Regions from separate parts of the Homo sapiens genome. Here region 2 is linked to region 1. The links are contacts of gene promoters, found by promoter capture Hi-C in human tissues and cell types (Jung and others, 2019). All regions are on one chromosome and are shown on one strand. The core of a region is centred on a gene start or on the middle of the fragment in contact, and the rest is flanking DNA. Distances in the headings are between cores, read along the strand shown. Region 1 holds the start of WFDC1 (WAP four-disulfide core domain 1). Region 2 has its middle 15 kb from the start of KCNG4.

Region 1 (4,233 bases), core at 910-3,409:
TCTCTATGGTTGTAGAACCAAAGTGCTACTAACTACAGTTGAGGGTTAAATCATCCTGTTGCACCAGAGAAGAGCATGGAGGAGTCAATAAAATCTGAGAAGAGTCTCTCACCCCTCCTCAATGCCTCCCCTCTGGCCAGGTCTGGTCTCCCAAGCAGCTCTTAGATGCACCACTTCTGCCTGTGAGCCTCGGCTCATGCTGAGCCTTCTTCCAGGAATTTCCTTCCTCCTCCTAATTCCTAATCCTTCCCCAAGATCCAGTCAAGGTCTCCACCTCCTCCAGGAAGCCTTAGGTGACTACACCATCTCACATGAGCTTTCCCTTCTCCAAGCGCCTCATCATGTCACTCTACTACTCTTTCCACTTCTCGAAGTCCTCCTGTCTCCCGCCACGAGCATGTGCCGAACATGGAGAATATGAGCCCTGGAGGCCCAGATTTGTCTCAATACAGTTTCAGGCACCCCACTATGCCTGGGGTCATTAATCATTCTCCCTTCCCTCTTCTCCAGCTGGCAAACTCCTATTTATCCTTTAAAGCCACAGGTCCACTGTCCCCAACCCTAAAAACCCTGTCTGACTCTCCTGGGGAAGAGCTGCACACGCATCCCGTGCTACCACTGCAGCCGCTCATAATTCACCCACAAGAATGTACCAGGCGTCAACTTAATGGCAGGCACCAGGGGCACACATTAGTGAAACAGAACCCTGCCCTACCCCAAGGAACCTACATGCTACCCTGTTAGGCAACACCAAACAAAGTCACAATTATTTGATTGAAAGCTGCCAAGATGCACTGCCAGCTTGCTATGTTGCAAAGACGTTCTACATACTGAGACATTCAATCCTCACACAGGTGCTGTGGGTGCCAGCATTACCTTCTTGAGCCCTCTGTGTGCTGATATCGTCCTGGCTCACTCCGTCCCTGCGGATCTGTGATCTCTGGGGGGTGGGAGGAACCAAAAATGATAGCCTCCTCCACCCCATTCTCTCTCCTAGTTCCCTTCCTGCTTTATTGCTTCCTCAGCACTTGCAATCTGCACATACTAATAAATGAGATCTCTCTCATTTATTCTTTGCTGCCCCCAGCCCCCCATTGAGTTCCCCAGGCAGAGATGTGAGGCCTGTATCCCCACAGCCTAGGACAGTACCTGGTAAACAGTGGCGACCCAGACATAGTTGTGTGAAGAAATGCATCCCTCTGTCTTTTGCAGATGAGATTGCTGGGGTTCAGAGACGTCAAGCAGCTTGCCTGAGAGAAGCCACGCAGCTAATGAGCAGCAGAGCCCGATTCACACCCAGACATCTGGCCCCAGGGCATGTGTTTCTTGCCACTCACTGCCTCATGCCTTCTCTTTGTACTGCCATCGTTTGTCACCCAACTGCCTCTGCACCTCGGCCACGCCACCCTTGAGGATGGGGGCTGGTACCTCCTTTATCTTGTATCCACAGGACCCCACAGAGTGCCTTCCCCAGAGCGGTTTCTGCTAAATTCTGTTTAACAGAGTGTATTCATTCTGTTTGCTGAATGAATAAACAACCACATGAATGCATAAGTGTATTTCACAAACATTTGGTACTGATCAGGGAGACGGAATGCTCCGTTTAAATCCTGGGGTTCCGAAATGAGATGCTGTCTTTCAGGAGCAAGCATACTTTTGTAACAAGGCAAAAGTAAGGCACGATTCTTTGGCACATTTGTGATGTGTCTTTTGCCTCTTGATTCACAGATAAGGGTCCTTTTTTGGGGGTGAGCCCCATCTGCCCACCACACAACTCAGACACACACGGATAGGAAGACGCCTGCCTTGCCACGTTTTGGGGGAGCACTTACAGGAGAAGGCAGTGTCTAGGGATCGCCTCTCCTCAAGGCTGACTCCCACCCACACAGGCTGCCCCAGCCTCCCCATCCCAGGCACTTACACGGGATTTCTCGGCCAGCCTCGCAGGCAATGCCCGTTTCCAGATATTCTTGGCAGAGCCGGCGTGGAGGAGAAGTAGCAAGAGGCACAGAGCCCGGATGATCTGCCTCCTGCAGCTGCCCGGCCCCACGCCGGTTAAAGGCATTTCCTCCCTGGGCAGCGACCTTCCAGACGCACACAGAAGAGGGGCCCCCCTCGCTGCGTGGGCCTGTGAGTGGGGACAGGAGCGTGCACAGTCTGCTGGACTTTCTTAGTTCCACCCAGCAGGGTCCCTCGGATCATGTGTCCGCGTCCAGCACATGCCCCTTCCTCGATGGTGGCTGGCCTGCCCGGTTATTTTTAGCTTGCCCTATAACATCTGGCCCCAGACGCTCCAACCAGGGCGTCTGCAGCCCAGGCAGCTCAGTGGGCGGTGGCAGCAGGAGGAGGGGGCACCGGCTTGCTTGGAGACGTGGCCGGGAGTGGCCTGTCACTCTCCACTCTCCATAATGAGCACTTCCTTGCAGGCTGGGGCGGTCTCCTCCCAAGGAGGTGTGCTTGACACAGGGCTCGGGGCTGGACATGCAGGGGAGTGCAGCCGGATGGGTGGGGGCTCGGCTGCTACCTTGTTCACATTTCGAGCTGGGCTGACAAACTATCTGCCTATAAAAGCTTCTTTGAAAGAGGCTGCTGGACTGGCACTGGCCAAGGGTGCAGCCATGAAGAGACGACTTCCACCCTTGCACCCGCCGGGGTCCTCCTGCCTGATGTGGGCATGTGGGTAGTTCCTCATAGCGTGTGTTTCCTGTGAGATTTAAAAGAAATTGAGCACATAAAGCATTTCACACACATAAGTGTGCTGTCACTGTCAGCCGGTGTATCTGCACATGTGCATTTATGTGTATGCGTGTGTGCACGTGGGTGTGCATGTGCACGTGTGTGTTTTACAGGAATGTAGCACAGCGGGCTCAACATTTCACAAACTTCATATTCCCTTGTCTGTTCTCAGCACTTCCAAGACAGATACTGGTTTTTTGTTTTGTTTTGTTTTTCGAGACGGGTCTTGCTCTGTCACCCACGCTGGAGTGCAGTGGTGTGATCACAGATCACTACAACCTCTGCCTCCCGGGTTCAAGCGATTCTCCTGTCTCGGCCTTCCAAGTAGCTGGGATAACAGGCATGTGCCACCATGCCTGGCTAATTTTTGTATTTTTAGTGGAGACTGGGTTTCACCATGCTGGCCAGGCTGGTCTCAAACTCCTGACCTTAAGTGATCTGCCCGCCTCAGCCTCCCAAAGTGCTGGTATTACAGGTGTGTGAGCCACCACACCCGGCCCCAAAACAGACACTGTTTTGATGCCCGCTTTACAGATGAGGAAACAGAGGGGGCTGCCTGAGGTCATGCAACAGCAGCAGAGAGGAGGCTGGAACCCAGGTAGGTCAGACCCTGTGGCACCCCCCTAGGCGAAGCAGAAGGGACCCAAGCACTAGGCTTGACGCACCTGCCTGATCCCAGTTCAGCCTCTGCGAGATGCTGGAAAGCCTCTTGCTCATGGTCCTCAGTTCTCTCATCTGTGAAATGGGCATGTGAAAGTCTCTGCCTCTTGAGATCGATGTGGGGCTACAGGAGAGGGTGCCAGCTGTGCCCAGCACTTGCACAGAGTGAGTGCTCCAGAAAGATTGGTTCCTCCCTCCCTGGGGACCCTCACCCCCCACCTCCTGGCCAGCACAGCCTTCAGAATGCCCTGGGCAGGTATCATCAACCCCTCTTGGCCTTTTAGTGAATGACAATAGTGGCAAACACATATAGTCTGTGTAGGTCGGGTACGGTGGCTCACACTTGTAATCCTAGCACTTAGGGAGGCAGAGGATGCCTTGAGCCCAGGAGTTCAAGACCAGTCTGGGCAACATAGTGAGACCTCATCTCTACAAAAAATACAAAATAAAAAAAGTAGCCCGGCGTGCTGATGCACACCTGTAGTCCCAGCTAATTGGGAGACTGAGATGGGAGGATCACCTAAGCGTGGGAGGTTGAGGCTGCAGTGAGCTGTGATGGCGCCACTGTACTCCAGCCTGGGTCACAGAGCAAGACCCTGTATCAAAAAAAAAAAACCTTAAAAGCCATACAGTCTGTGTGTTCGGCAATGTTTGAAGCACTTCCTGCATTTTAATGCTTTTAGGTCTCATATTAGCCTTATAAGCAGGTGCTGTCTAGGATCCCATGCACAGAGAGGTTAAGACACTTGCCCAGTGAGCAATGCAAAATTTAAGTTCACCATCAGAGTCCTGTAAACCCAGGAGCCCAAGCGTGAGAGTCTTTTTACATTTTAGACC
Region 2 (4,662 bases), core at 1,589-4,088, 41 kb after region 1:
TCAATCCATTAACCATCCGTCCATCTATCTGTTCATCATCCATCCATCCCTTCATCACTTATTGTATGTTCCTTCCATGCTAGCTCTTACACCAGGTGTATAACTGACAAACTTCCAGCTCTGGCTTAACCCTAACTCCTTAGATCCAGGCCAGCCCTGTTCCCACAGCATAACACTGCTGGAGGGTCTCAGTCTCCTAGTTTTACTGGGATAAGGAGACCGTAACCCCGACCTCTCCACCACTTTTTGCTCATTCAGACTAAATATACAGTGGATAGTCTTGTCTGTCCTTCCTATTTACTTAGCTAGCAAAAGTGTTATGTGCAAAAGCCTAAATTTTTGCTGACAGCAAAACAAATTTTTAAAAATCCTTTTAGAATAAGAAATATGTTTGTGTTCAGGCAAAGAACAAAACTTCTGCACTTAAAAAAAATTAGGTCAATTATTCTATTGCTTTTAGCTTCTCAATCTTGCCTGATTAAATACTTACTCTAGAAAAATGAGGATCCACGGGAGGACAGCAGACTTTCCTGGTGACCTTCTTGCTCCCCTCTAAGGAAAATCACTGCCCTAGATTTTCAAAATCTTCATAAAAGCCGAGTATGTCTCGAGAAAATAGCTCTTAAAAGGTGTGAAAGCAAATTATGAGATATTTCCAGCAATAAAACCGAGTTGGTGTTTCTGGTAAAACACACAGATTCATTCACACGAAGTGCCATTATCAAGATATTAGAAACAAGACTCATTTATCTCTTTTAAAACTTATTAATGAAACCACTAAAAATAATCCCTAACCCTGACTGCTTATTTTATGCCAAAAATTATGCAAAGTATTTACATACATAATTTTATTTAATCCTTAAAACAGCCCTTTGAGGTAAAAACTAGTGATCTATCATTATCCCCATTTTAGAGATGAGGAAACTGAGTTTTACAAAATCTAAGTAACTTGCCCAAGGTTAGAAAGCTGGAAATTGAAGGAATGGAGATTTAAACCCAAGGAGTCTGACTTCAGAGCCTACACGCTTAATTTCCATGTGATAGTTGGGCTTCATATAAAAAAGAAAAATACATATATGCAAAAGCAAAATAGAAATTACCTCTAAATCTTCCATTCAGAGATAACCACTTAGCACCTTGATCTATATTCTTCCACTTGATTTTTCCTTTGCTTTCTTCACTTACCAAATGTAGCATGAACATTCCCTATGCCAACAGGCATATTTTCTGCTGTGTTTTGAGCTCTCTGGAAACACAAATACATTACTGGAAGCTCCACCCCTAAGACTGGAAGAACCAAGAGAAAGAAGATATCACGAATGGATAAAATCTCCAGGGACTCTGGTGGGAACTGGGAACAAAGGTGCAATTTGGAGGGCTGCTCTTTCCTTGGCTTCTGGCAAAGTCTTGTGGTTTATGATGAGATGTGGGTTATTAGGAGCCATCAGAAAGGACCAAAGAGGATGGAAATTGTAGAAGCAGCAGCAGCAACTTTAACATGACCACAGGTTCTTTGACATTCCTCCCACTGAGAAGTGGAGCCTGGGTCCCCTCCCTTTGAGAGTGGGCAGGCTTCTGACTGCTTAGACACAGCAGACATGACACTATGTGACTTTTCAGGCTGGGTCACAAAAAGCCATGCAGCTCCTACCTTACTCACAAGGCACTGACCTGTCATTTCAGAAGTCTCACTACCCATGGAGGCTGCCATGCTGAAGTGGCCGCAGAGAGGTGCTCTGAGCAACCGTCCCAGCTGAGCCCAGCCTTCCAGCCATCCCTGCCAATGTGTCAGACACAGGACTAAAAAGAACACCTTAGAAGGGGATCCTCCAGCCACCGCCTCATATACTAGAGTCACCCTCAGCTCTGGGGCTTCTGGCTGAGACCCTAGACATCATGAAGTAGAAAAGCCTTTCTTGTTGTGCCTTGCCCAAAGTCCTGACCCACAGAAGCCAGGATTCTCTCTTTTTTAAAAATTGGTAATAAATAATCATTATTTTATGCCAGTGTTTTCAAGATGGCTTATTGCACAGCAAAAGATCACTGTGACAGAATTTGGCACCTGGAAGTGGGGACTGACCTATACAAACTTGGAGCAGGGCTCAGAGGTTGCTGTGCTTGCATCTGAGGCACCACCATGTGCCATGAGACCAAAAATCTCTCAAAGATCCCAATGATCCCAGTCTCCACCTTCCCTTCCTGGGCCTCCAGGAGATGTGTTCTACTAGGAAAGGGCATCAAAATATAATTTTCAAAACATTTTTTTAAATGGGGCCCAGCATGATCACTCACACCTGTAATCCCAGCACTTTGGGAGGCCGAGGCAAGTGGATTGCTTCAGTCCAGGAGTTTGAGACTGGCCTGGGCAACATGGTGAAACCCTGTCTCTACTAAAACAAACAAACAAACAAACAAACAAACCAAAAAAAAACAACAAACTTGTCCCATGAATATAGAATGAATGAGTATGTGTCAAAAATCCCTCATTCTCATAAGTGAAAGGACCAAGAACACTAAAGCTGGTGACCATCCTGAGTATTCACAGGCATGGGAGAAGAATGCTGGGACAGGGATTCTGGGTGAGACACAAAACTGGAGAACATTCTTCAGGGCAATAAAACCATGACCTTGGAGGTTTCTTCACTAACAGACAGCAATCAGACTCATTTCTACCAGACAAAAATTTGCAAGTTAACATGTTAACGTCAGACTCCGGGGGCCCTACTCAACAGTACAAAAAGAGTCAAACAAAGCCACAGTTCCCCCAGAGAATTAAATATAAATAACTCCCGAGCTGGCCTGTTCACAGAAGCTACAGTGTGACATTGAAAGGATGCACACACAGCCGTCTGCTTTGCTCCCAAGTTTTAGATCCTTTTTCCTCAGGAGAGTCCTGGTAGCAGAAACTCTTCCTTGCCCAGGCACATCAGACACAAGGGACCCCAACACCCCTCCGCCAACACTCCTCCAATTCCAACATCCTGAACGTAGATGCCAATCTCTGCCTATGATCTCCTGTCTCTCCACCTCGCCCCTGTCTTCCTGGAGACCTCAGGCTCCCACCCCTCCTGGCTTTCCAAGACCCCCAGACCTCCCTTGACCCCACTAGGCACCCCTAGCCCCCAAGATCCAGGACCGTCAAGCTTCCCAAAGACCTACCAAAAGATGGATGATTCTGAAAACATGCAAAGTTTCCAAATCATGAGGAAAAATAACCTGTTATTAATATAGATTTTGATATTTAATATATCCATTTGTTCATTAGTCAATTTTGTACCCAAAATATTTCATTACATTGAAAAGCCACATGTCAGCTTCCTTGTCACATTGGAAGTGACCTCTCTAAAGCAGGTACAACGTCTGCTGAGGAGTCAGTGCCAATCATCCATTAAACAAGGTCCTCATAGCCAAAAGATTTGCAAAGCAAAACAATAAATATGTACCCACATCTTTGCAGAGCAAACCAGTTTCTGGATGTGAAAAGCGGGTGCACATAAGAAGGTTGATAGGCTGTGAGATGAGGCCTTCAGGAGTAAGACCGCCTGAAATGGGCCAGCTGCTCCCCATCACTGTGCCCTACTCCCAAGACTCCTATTCTCATCTCCTGCCATTTGGCCTTCTTGTCCCATCATTGTCACCCCTGAGTAGACTCCACTCCTGTGAACAAGGCCGGTGCAAAACACCCTGCACCATGCCAAAGACTCCACTACAACCCCAGTGTTGCGCATGATGGACAAAGTGCCTTTTCCATCAACTTCTCAAAGGTGCTGAGCAGTTCTGCAAGAAGGGAACCTGCTTGGCCCTCCTTCCCCCAAACTTACTGGAACAACACTCTTTTCCTTGGACCGCTGGTGTCACTCATACTCAGAAATGGCTCAGCAGATGGCAAGTCATTGAGAACAGACGCACAGCACAAAAGTTTCGCAGGAGGGCACCAGGGAGTGGGGGAGAGTAGAAAGATGAAGTGGGTGCGGAGGAAGAAACTAACACCCCCCCCCGCCCCCGACACACACACACACACACACACACACACACACACACACACACTGTTCTGCAGGAAATAATTAGCAACTGACAAGGAATAGTTGAAGGCAGTCTACCGCTCTCAACGCTGCCCCAGTGGGGTCTTCGTGTGCTGGGCTACACAGACTCACCCAGGCTGTTCTTTGGAAACCCTGGGAAACTTTAAAAGGGTCCCTACCCATCACAGTCCAGGACACGCCTGGGACCAGCCCATTTCCATATCCAACAAGACCCAGATCCTGGTTCCTTCCCTGCCTGTCAGCCAGGACCCGGCCTTCTGTGGGAAGTCCTCTTCCCGGGTTTCCCTCCAGGCCTCCCATCTCACAGGACTGAGAGGAAATTCATTGCTTTCCCCACAGTTTTGCCTTCTGGATTGCCCCTCAATTGCCTGCATCTCCCTCTTCCCTCTCCACTGGATCCTGACTCCCCTCACCTCCTGGCCTCCACCCTGTCCCCCCACCTCTCACCCTACCTTCCTTTTCATTCATTCACTCCCAAACTTCCAGCTTCCTGGGCTCCCCTCCCCTCCACACTGCAACTTCCCTCTGTTGCCATAGAAACCGCCCTGAAAGGTGACAACTGACCTTCCAATTACCCAGAGGCCTGTGCCGGCTGTGCCTCCCCGTCCATTCTTAGATG

Evidence for each region. Contacts are between HindIII fragments. The study calls those that stand out against the background at their distance.
Region 2: a fragment that was not itself captured here is called in contact with the fragment with the promoter of WFDC1 in region 1 in 9 of the 25 tissues and cell types used here (H1 embryonic stem cells, IMR-90 fibroblasts, adrenal gland and 6 more).

Annotation. Positions count from the first base shown.
Region 1 is chr16:84,292,804-84,297,036 of GRCh38, reverse strand. It overlaps WFDC1 (WAP four-disulfide core domain 1), which reads right to left and starts at 2,159. Exons shown (of 7, transcript NM_021197.4): 1 at 1,922-2,159. The coding sequence starts at 2,065. LOC124903734 reads right to left here. Exons shown (of 6, transcript XM_047435022.1): 5 at 3,402-3,520; 6 at 2,199-2,704. The coding sequence ends at 2,199. The HindIII fragment of the contact is 18,601 bases long and covers 1-4,233 here.
Region 2 is chr16:84,252,303-84,256,964 of GRCh38, reverse strand. No RefSeq gene overlaps it. Among named protein-coding and RNA genes, the nearest start is that of KCNG4, 15 kb to the right of the region's middle. The HindIII fragment of the contact is 8,191 bases long and covers 1-4,662 here.